Regions from separate parts of the Homo sapiens genome. Here all the other regions are linked to region 1. Evidence: promoter capture Hi-C in 16 types of primary human blood cells and fetal thymus (Javierre and others, 2016). All regions are on one chromosome and are shown on one strand. The core of a region is centred on a gene start or on the middle of the fragment in contact, and the rest is flanking DNA. Distances in the headings are between cores, read along the strand shown. Region 1 holds the start of SFT2D1 (SFT2 domain containing 1). Region 2 overlaps CEP43 (centrosomal protein 43). Region 3 overlaps CCR6 (C-C motif chemokine receptor 6).

Region 1 (3,333 bases), core at 43-2,542:
CTGACCAACATGGTGAAACCCCCATCTCTACTAAAAACACAAAATAATTAGCAGGGCATGGTGGCAGGTGCCTGTAATCCCAGCTACTCAGGAGGCTGAGGCAGGAGAATTGCTTGAACCCGGGAGGCAGAGGTTGCAGCGAGTCGAGATCACGCCACTGCACTCCAGGCCTGAGCGACAAAGCAAGACTCCATCTAAAAAAAAAAAAAAAAAAAATTCATTGGCCACATGTGGCTGTGGTAATATACAGAGTTACAGAGTGCAATGAGAACAGATACTTGTCTTACACTCTCTGAACCCAAAACTGTAGCCCAGAACTCTACCCACACCAAGTGCTGAGTAAGTATAATGACAAGGAAGTCAGGAGAGACAAATAGAAGATCCTTATGAAATACAATTCAATTTTAAACGTCCAACTTCTGCGACAGCACACAATAACGTGCAATATAATCGCATGCAATAACAAAAAAACTTACACCGCAGTTCCTGCTCCACTGCTACTTTTAACCTTCTTGCTGGAGGAAGTAACCCTTATCAAGTCTCGCTGGTAAGGCGCAGACACAAGGGCTTTTATTAAGAAAAAAAAAAAAATCTCTTACCAGGGCTCACTGCCTTAACAGAAAAATTTTAATTCAATATTATTTCACTTACCAATGTCCTGTTTATTTTTCCTCCAGTCTCCCTATTTCCAAAAGACCACCCCCCAGCAAACACACACATAACACCACCTTTACCTCCAAAGACAAACAGATGCAACAAGCTTTAGGGTCTCGGCTCACTGCAGCTTGCAGGATAAATGCCCTGCATAGCTACTTACGCTGCACAGCCCGAGGCCAGACCCCGCACCAGGCTCAGAAAACCAAATAGTACGTGGGAGCGATGGATTATTTGGGAAAGCGAGGGCAGACGTTAGCGGATTCCTAAGTCAGAAGGCCAGATGGGAGAGTCGGGGGGGGGCCTCAAAGTGGGTTTAAGTAGACCGCATGGAAAACTGGAAAGTTCTCAAATTCTACCCAGGAAGCAGGCGGAGCCCTCCTAAATCAACCAGCCGGGCAGAGGAGTCCCAGACCCCCGGCCTCGCACCCACCCCACCCGCTCGGCCGGTCCTCAGTGCGGCCGGGGCCAGCGGGCAGCCCCGGGACTGGACGAGGGCGCAAGTTCGCTACCTGCGCAGTCAGGCCCTGCTCCTCGTCGTCCTGGCCGCTCAGGACTCGCCGCAGCTTCTCCATGGCCCTGTTACAGGGCCGTAGCGGCCGCCACTCTGTTGCCTGCCCCTGACGCCCACCAGGAAACCCCGAACCCGAAACCCCACAGACCAGCCGGAAGTCCGGTCCCGCCCGCTTCCTGTGCGTCAGCGCGGCCGCCGTAGCAATGCGCGCATGCTCACCAGCCTTTCTCTCGGACCCGGTAGTGGTCCGTGAAGTCCGCGGAGTGGGCGCTGATGGTGGGGCTATCCCTTCCCACTGTCCGCGAGGTGCGCCGTGGTAACGCGCGGGGACACAGCGCGGGTGTGGACCCCCTGCCCACAGCTGGCGCACAGCCATTGAGTGTAGACCCGACTGGGGCACGACCACTGAACCCTGCACTTGGCGTCCTCCGGGCCCCGCGAGGGGCCTTGCTGGGCGGGTCCGCGGCACCCCGGGTTCCCAGAAGTCGAGGCCCCGAATGCGCCTCCCCTCGCCTGGAATCGGAGAGCGGAGGGCTCCTGCGGGCAGGTGGCCGTGCTCCGAAGAGCGCCCTGCCACCCATGAGGTGGCCCTGGGGGCGTCGCTAGCCTTCCCAGCTGGGTGTCCTCATCCGGAGACACAAACACCTGCCTCAGGATTAAAGCGAGGAGCTGTATTTCAGACCGTCTCAGGAGAAATAGCAAGAGGCTGCCTCACTCCTTTGCCCTTGTGAGAGCTATTTCTTTACTCAGTTCACTGGTCAGCTAGGAGTTTGAAAGAGTGAAATCTTATTTATAAAAGGAATAGCTAATGCAACCCATTTTTCCAGTTTTGTGTGAACAGTGAAACCATTGAACAAGCGTTTACTGTTCTCCGGCTCGTGCTGGATGAACAAACACTAAGAAATGGGGAAGTGGCATTTTTCTCTCTCTCATTTTCCACCATGCTAAGAAAGGAGATTAAAAATCAGGGCTGCCTGTCTAATATGGTCTCCAGAAGTCATTAAGTGATAGGTTTTGCTCTTCTGTTTGCTTCTAGGCTTGGTAAGATGGTAATGAGAATGCCTGTTCTTTTGATTACTTTGCCCACTCCATTTCCTCCCTAAAATCTTTCAGTTAAAAGGTGGATCCTCAAAAAGTTTCATTGTCCATCCTACTGCCTCAGTAGAGATTTTATCTAAACTCAATTAGATAAAAACAAATACCACAGGAACCCTAGGAAAGCAAGTCGCGCCTTCTTGTGATGAAACGGTCCAATGCTCAGCATCCTTTTCCTTTAGGCAGAAGATATTTCTATGTGGCCTGTTCATACTAATATGAGAAGTCTTATCCTTATGTCCTTAACTTTAAAAGGTCAGAAAATAGATTGTAAAATCTATAGAATAAAACTATGTTTCTGTTGAATAAGAGAGTATGTCCGTAAGTGTTACGGGAAAGGGGTCCGGATCCATACCCCAAAAGAGGGTTCTTGGATCTTGCGCAAAAAGAATTCAGGGCAAGTGAAAACAAGTTTATTTAAAAAGTAGAGGAACATCGGTAGTCTGAGGCAGAGAATTGCTTGAACCCGGGAGGCGGAGCTTGCAGTGAGCCGAGATCGCGCCCCTGCACTCCAGCCTGGGCGACAGAGCGAGACTCCGTCTCAAAAAAAAAAAAAAAAAGTAGAAGGACAAAAGAATAGCTACTCCATAGGCAGAGCAGGGCTGTCTATTACCAGGGCTGCTGGTTGCCCATTTTTATGGTTATTTCTTGATGATATGCTAAACAAGGGGTGGATTCATGCCTCCCCTTTTTAGACCATATAGGCTAACTTCGTGATATTGCCATGGCATTTGTAAACTGCCATGGCGCTAGTGGGAGTGTAGCAATGAGAACGACCAGAGGTCTCTCTTGTTACCTTGGTTTTGGTGGGATTTGGCCGGTTTCTTTACTGCAGTCTGTTTCATCAGCAAGGTCTTTATGATCTGTATCTTGTGCTGACCTTCTATCTTATCCTGTGTCTTAGAATGACTTAACTGTCTGGGAATGCAGCTCAGTGGGTCTCAACCTCATTTTACCCAGCCGCTATTCAAGATGGGCTTCTCTGGTTCACATATCTGACATAACTGCTTTCAAGATTTTCAAGTATAGGCCGAGCGCGGTGGCTCACTCCTGTAATCCCAGCACTTTGG
Region 2 (3,235 bases), core at 564-3,063, 700 kb after region 1:
GTGGCATTGGGTGGGGAGGATTCCCGCCATCAGTTCTCTGTCCATGGGTGCTAGTCTCACCCCTGCCCTCCGAGCAGTCCGTGCTCCCAGTGTCCCTGTCCTCTTTTTTTTTTTTTTTTTTTTTTGAGGTGGAGTTTTGTTCTTGTTGCCCAGGCTGGAGTGCCATGGGGCGACCTCGGCTCACTGCAACCCCTGCCTTCTGGGTTCAAGTGATTCTCCTGCCTCAGCCTCCCAAGTAGCTGAGATTACAGGTGCCTGCCACCATGCCCAGCTAATTTTTATAATTTTTTTGTAGAGACGGGATTTCACCATGTTGGCCAGGCTGGTCTCAAACTCCTGACCTCAGGTGATCCACCCGCCTCAGCCTCCCAAAGTGCTGGGAATACAGGTGTGAGTCACGGTGCCCGGCCTAGTCTTCCTGCTCTAGGAAGGGACGTGTTTGGGGAGGAAATCCAGGGCAGCTACCTTTGTGAGTTGTCCTAATGCTGCGTTCAGAGTTCCACACGTTCAACAAGCATCTGACATTTAAGGAAAGTGAATGTATGTCATGAAAGACAGATGAACAAAGAACTGATCTTGAAGAAAATGTAATCAGGAAACGAGATAATTCAAGAACAAAAACCTGTGAAGGACTGAATGTGTCCCCCAAAATGTGTATGTCGAAACCTAATCCCACATAGGATGGAATTAGGTAGGGCCTCTGGAAGTTGATGAGATCATTAGCGCCCTTATAGGAGGCCCGGGAGAGCTGCTTTGCCCCTTCCAGCGTGTGAGGACACAGTGAGGAGGTGTTGCCTATGAGGAAACAGGCCCTCCCAGATGGTGAACCTGCCGGTACCTTGATCTTGGACTTAAGCCATCTGAGCTGTGAGCCCTACACTTCCATTCTTTATAAATTATCCAGTCCAAGGTACTTTAGGAACCTGAATGGATTAAGACAAACCTGATTATGCCACTCCGAGATTTGAGGTAACATTTGAATCTAAAAGAGGCTATATGAAAGAGGTTATAATAAAAATGATTTTTGACTAAAAAATTGTTGGCCTAAGATAATTCAGTAGCAGGGCTGAATAATGGGATGACTCAAAATCAGTAAGCTCAAAGGCAATTTCAAAGAAATCTTTATGTTTAGCAAGAAGACCAAGATGACAAGATGCGCCAGGAGACTTGGCCAGAGGACCTCCAGGCTGACAAAGTTTCCCCGAGGAAGTCAGATTGGAAAAGTGTCCTCAGGTTCAAGGAAACCTGGGTGTGCACCGGGTGAATGAGAGTGGCAGACAGAAGGAAACAGCAAGGCCTCTGAGGTAGGAGGGACAGCGTTTTTGAATGTGAAATTTATTCCCTGATACATGTTTTTAAAAATGAATCTTGCTGCCCTTAGAAAATGAACCCCCGAACAAGGTAAGGTCGAGCTGGCCCCTCGTGTCATCCGACTTTGCGTTGTGGCCCTGCCTGCAGAAACGTGTGCTCTGCTACAGCCCTGGGAGGAGGGGCCGGGCTCCCAACTCCTGCCCCGCTTCTAGCACATGCTGTGCTTGGCCACTTCTCTGCCTCTTAGTTTAACAGCAGCACTGGGCAAGGTTTGCCCTCTGCACACCAGACCGGCTTCCCAAGAACCGGGGAAGAGGAGAGGGCATGCCTGGGGCCTGAGCTTAGTGGGCCGGGTGGAGGCAGGAGGTACTGCATGGAGGAGCGTGGACAGTGGCATGCAGGAGGCCAGTCATTCTGCGGTTTTAGCTGGAGGTTTGTTTTTGGTAGTTTGTAGAATCATCAGATTTGATGATGAAACTTTTTTTCCATAAATGTTAAATTTTCAGACACTTGTATTTTTTTTTTCCTTTTTTTTTTTTGAGACTGAGTCACTGTCGCCCAGGCTGGAGTGCAGTGGTACTAGCTCGGCTCACTGCAACCTCTGCCTCCCAGGTTCAAGCGATTCTCCTGCCTCAGCCTCCTGAGTAGCTGGGATTACAGATGTGTTTCACCATGCCCGGCGAATTTTTTTTGTATTTTTAGTAGACACGGGATCTCACCGTGTTGGCCAGGCTGGTCTTGAACTCCTGACCTATGGTGATCCGCACCCCTCCCCGCCCCCCCCGCGGCCCAGCCTCCCAAAGTGCTGGGATTACAGGCATGAGCCACTGTACCCAGCCCTGTATTTTCTTTAAAAACCAATTTTGGGCCGGGCACGGTGGCTCACGCCTGTAATCCCAGCACTTTGGGAGGCCGAGGCAGGCGGATCACGAGGTCAGGAGATCGAGACCATCCTGGCTAACATGGTGAAAACCCATCTCTACTAAAAATACAGAAAAAAAATGAGCTGGGTGCGATGGTGGGTGCCTGCAGTCCCAGCTACTCGGGAGGCTGAGGCAGGAGAATGGCGTGAACCCAGGAGGCGGAGCTTGCAGTGAGCCCAGATCACGCCCCTGCACTCCAGCCTGGGTGACAGAGCGAGACTCCGTCTCAAAAACAACAACAACAACGAAAAAACGATTTTGGCATGTTTTGTAAGTTGCCAGACTATTGGATATACCTCTTAATCATACTTTGTTTGAAATCCTTTGTGGTTTCTAAAGCACTAGTAGCTTTCTGAAAGGAAAATTTTTAATGAATGAAGCATGCTTCATCCTGCACATCCCCTCCTGCCCCAGCACCCCTACTGCCCATGCGCCTCTCCTGCCCCAGCACCCCTACTGCCCCAGTGCCAGGCCTTTTCTAGCAGCTCTCATGGGTTCATCCCTGCTGCGGGCATTGCTCCACCAAGGGGCAGTGCTCTCCCTGCCGGTAAGTGTTGGAACTTCACGTTTCCCTCTAGTTTTCTCTTTACATTTTAACATACACTATTATGTGTCAATATATTAATTATATATTAATTACATTTATAGAGGTTAGGTATATATGGCAGATCATATCTGAGCGTGAATTACATTCTCCAATATTTTTATTTGTCATGATTTATTGCAGGGTTCACTTATTTGATCTACCCCAACTTAACACACATTTCCAAGAAAATATCCATCACACTAGAAAGAAAGAAAGAGGAAGGAAGGAAGGGAGGGAGGGAGAGAAGGAGAAAGGAAGAAAGGGAAGGAAAATGGAATGGAGGAAGGGAAAAATGGAAGGAGGAAGGAAGGAAGGGAAAGAATGAAGAAAGCCATTTGTTCCTGCAAACCTAAACCTCTTTGTAGTAAGTTCTGGCAGAAGGTGTGTTTCTGGAGTTAAACTACAGGCTTGGAAA
Region 3 (3,370 bases), core at 56-2,555, 790 kb after region 1:
TCTTCAGAACATGTGATAAAGCTCAGTCAATGAGATATGCCTTCCTGGTGAAGGAGATACTCAGGGGATGAGACATGATGAGTCTCTCATTTGGTGTCATGCCATAGTGTGCCCGCCCTACAGGGTACCCCGGGTCCTGTGAGAGGCTAACATTCAGGTGGGGGGTGACAATGAGTTACTGAGACAGCAACAATCGACACTTTACTTGAGGCAGCTGAATATTGGAAAAGAAGCCTCTTAACTGCAAAACCGAATTGAGTCAAATGACATTTCTAAAGTGTGTCATTAGATGACTTTTTCTTAGAGCCCCTGAAACTCCTCCTCCAAAGAACAGTGTGTCCTACAGAAGCTCTAGAAGTATTCCTCTGCCCACTTGTTTGGGAAATATCTAAATTCCAAAGACAAGAAAATTACACTTTAAGAATCAGTTGAGCTGAATGTATTTTACATGTGATTTAATGACATCAAAGTGAGATCTGGTGAGAATGGTGGTCATAGGGACCACGTGTGAGATAGGAAGTGCTGAACCTCAAAGAGACAGTGTGAGATGTGTTGCAGGTGGCTGCTTTGCAAGGGTAGGTTCACTGGTTCACCAAGAACTGGACACAGGGCTCAGCACATTTCCCTGCATCTCTCATCTGCCACTCGTAGATAACAGGGTGTCTTATTCTCAGTTCATTAAAGAAGGAACAGAAATATCTACTAAAAAACTTCTTAGTGTCTTCACATCAACATTTTCTTAATAGAAAATCTGCAGCCTGTTTCTCCAAGGAGCTGGTGACTGCTGCCTGAGATCTGAGATGATAGAGCAAGTTGTGAACAGGATTCTTTACACGTTGAGGTGATACCCACGCCAATCTGTCACCAAAACAGTTTCCTTAAAACAATTCACACAGTTTTTCCTGTGAAAACAGTGGCTTGGGGAAGGCCGAATCATTTTCAATGACTGTGGCTGGCATACAGGTGAACCTGACAACCACCGTTTTTATGGAGAATCCTGATTCTTAACCACAGTGACATTAAATTTGTCATTATCTAGAATTGTACATTGTTTATACCTAACACGTGCAAAACACCATCCTAAGAGACATGGAATTTATCAATTTTGGTTCATTGACTTATTCTGACATGAGAATAAATGAAAGGAAATTAAAGTAGTGTCTTATGAACAGGACGGAGTAGGCCAGCTTCTCATAGCTCTGCCGGGAACTTCCTGCCCTGTGGCCTGTGTATCTGGTTCCCTCTGGGCCTCCTTCTCTCAGGGACCCCACCCTCTGGGCCCCCCTCCCTCCGGGACTCCTCCCTCTGGGACCACCCTCCCTCTGGACCCCCTCCCTTTGGGACCCCTCCTTCTGGGACCCCCATCCCTCTGGACCCCTTCTCTCTGGGCCCCCTCCCAACTCCTTCTGCCGACAGGGATCCATCACACAGGCGCCCCAGTGCTGGCCTTCTGTTCACCAAGAGTTACTCACTTTCTGGGGTGCATCTCGTGATGACTGCTAGCATGGAACCGTTATATAATTACTTGTTTACCTGGCAGCCTTTTGAAGCTCAAGTACGCGTTGAGTCATCGCTGCACTTCAGTGCCTCTCCTCCGTAGACAGTTCATAAACATTTGTTGAACTGAGTTCAACTTAAATTCAGAAAATACTGTGTGTCACGGTGCAGTTAAACAAATGCTTACCTTAAATGGGGGCCCGTTGGGCATCGAGTGCACGGCGTGCCGGGCCGTCCCTCCCTTTTTGGCCCCCGCTGCTCTTCCCATCGTCATCAACTCAGCCTCCACGTGATGGGGAGGTCACTCCCTCCCATCCGGTCCCAGCCCCACTCACCTGGGAACCCGTGCCGCTGGCCCCACCTTGGCCTAGCATCCGTCCAACCCTGCAGCGACCGCTCCCCACAGCCCCTGCTCCCTTGTTCTCCAGAGCCGCGCCCCTGCTGCAGGCCTCCCCCTCGCTGTCCCCAAGCCCCTGCCTTCCACCCACACTGCCCACTCCTTCCCACCGTCCCCGCCTCTGTCCTTATGGAGTCCTCAAAAGCTCTTCTTGCCCCAGAACCTCCCATTACCCCTCAGTGCTCAGCGGCAGATCCTTGCTGTGACTGTTTATGGCACTAAGTGTCTGTTCCAACACATTTGCGCGGAAGAGTACGCAGGTACTTTTAAATTAACTTTATTGAGGCTAATTTATATGCAATAAATGTCACCGATTGAAGGGTACAATTCAACAGGTCTTGACAAGGGCACCCAGCCATGTGCCACCCCCACAATCAGGATAGAGGACATTTCTGCCACCACAAAAGCCCCTTGTGTCGCCCAACCCCAGCCAATCCCTTCTTCCCGTCCTGATGACAATCCCTGATTTCATTCCTGCCACTGTTATTTTGCCTTTTCTAGAAATGTTAGGGGTGGAATGGTGCAGTGCATGGTCTCTTCTGCCTGGATTTCTTACCGAGCGAAGGTTTTGAGTCACCCCCGTTGGAGCATGCATTAGTCGCCCGTTCCTTTTCATGGTTGAGTAGTATATGCTGTTGCATGGATACACTTCAACTCGGGTATCTGCTCACCAGTTCACAGACATTTGGGTCTTTTTCAGTTTGGGACGGTTAAGAATAAACCTGCTGGGAATGTTCCAGTGTTAATCCTCCCATGTCTCTTGGGTAGACATGTAGGAGTCGGTTGCAGGTTCCCATGGTGGATGCATGTTCAGCTGTGCAAGAAAGGACCCCACTGTCTCCTTGGAGTGGCTGTGTGATCTTGCAGTCCCACCAACAAAGTGTGAGAGCCCCAGATGCACCATGTCCTCTCCCAGCTTCCAGCCCCCTGTTTAATCTTAGTCCTTCCAGTGGGATCTCTGTGTGTGTGTCTGTGTGTGTGTGTGTATGTGTGTGTGTGTTTTGGACGGAGTCTCTCTCTGTCACCCAGGCTGGACTGCAGTGGCGTAATCTCAGCTCATTGCAACCTCCGCCTCCCGGGTTCAACTGATTCTCCTGCCTCAGCCCCCCAAGTAGCTGGGATTACAGGAGCACGCCATCACGCCTGGCTAATTTTTGTATTTTTAGTAAAGATGGGGTTTCACCATGTTGGCCAGGATGGTCTCGAACTCCTGGACTTAAGTGGTCCGTCTGCCTCGGCCTCCCAAATTGCTGGGATTACAGGCCTGAGCCACTGTTCCCAGCCTTCATTGTGGTTTTAATTTGCATTTTCCTCATGATTAATGGCATTGAGCGTCTTTTTTGTGTGTGTATTTGCCATCCATGTATTTTCCTTGGTGAATTGCCTGTTCACATTTCCCCCTGTTTCTTATTGTTTATGTTTTTGATAGGGAGTTGTAAAAATTATTTGTATATTCTGGATATAACCTATTATCAG

What was found. The method cuts DNA at HindIII sites, captures the fragments that hold promoters and counts their contacts. A CHiCAGO score of 5 or more calls a contact.
Region 2: a fragment that was not itself captured here is called in contact with the fragment with the promoter of SFT2D1 in region 1 in 2 of 17 cell types (monocytes and total B cells); the score reaches 7.1 in monocytes.
Region 3: a contact is called between a fragment that was not itself captured here and the fragment with the promoter of SFT2D1 in region 1, in 1 of 17 cell types (naive B cells). The highest score is 6.5, in naive B cells.

Annotation. Positions count from the first base shown.
Region 1 is chr6:166,341,253-166,344,585 of GRCh38, forward strand. It overlaps SFT2D1 (SFT2 domain containing 1), which reads right to left and starts at 1,293. Exons shown (of 8, transcript NM_145169.3): 1 at 1,167-1,293. The coding sequence starts at 1,229. LOC100289495 (a long non-coding RNA gene) reads left to right here and starts at 1,379. Exons shown (of 2, transcript NR_040022.1): 1 at 1,379-1,895. RefSeq lists a silencer at 1,004-1,163 and an enhancer at 1,225-2,118. The HindIII fragment of the contact is 4,850 bases long and covers 759-3,333 here.
Region 2 is chr6:167,043,273-167,046,507 of GRCh38, forward strand. CEP43 (centrosomal protein 43) reads left to right here. Exons shown (of 13, transcript NM_007045.4): 13 at 1-3,235. Among named protein-coding and RNA genes, the nearest start is that of CEP43, 45 kb to the left of the region's middle. The HindIII fragment of the contact is 5,824 bases long and covers 1-3,235 here.
Region 3 is chr6:167,129,663-167,133,032 of GRCh38, forward strand. The region is part of intron 1 of CCR6 (C-C motif chemokine receptor 6); the gene reads left to right. Among named protein-coding and RNA genes, the nearest start is that of CCR6, 8.3 kb to the left of the region's middle. The HindIII fragment of the contact is 4,140 bases long and covers 1-3,370 here.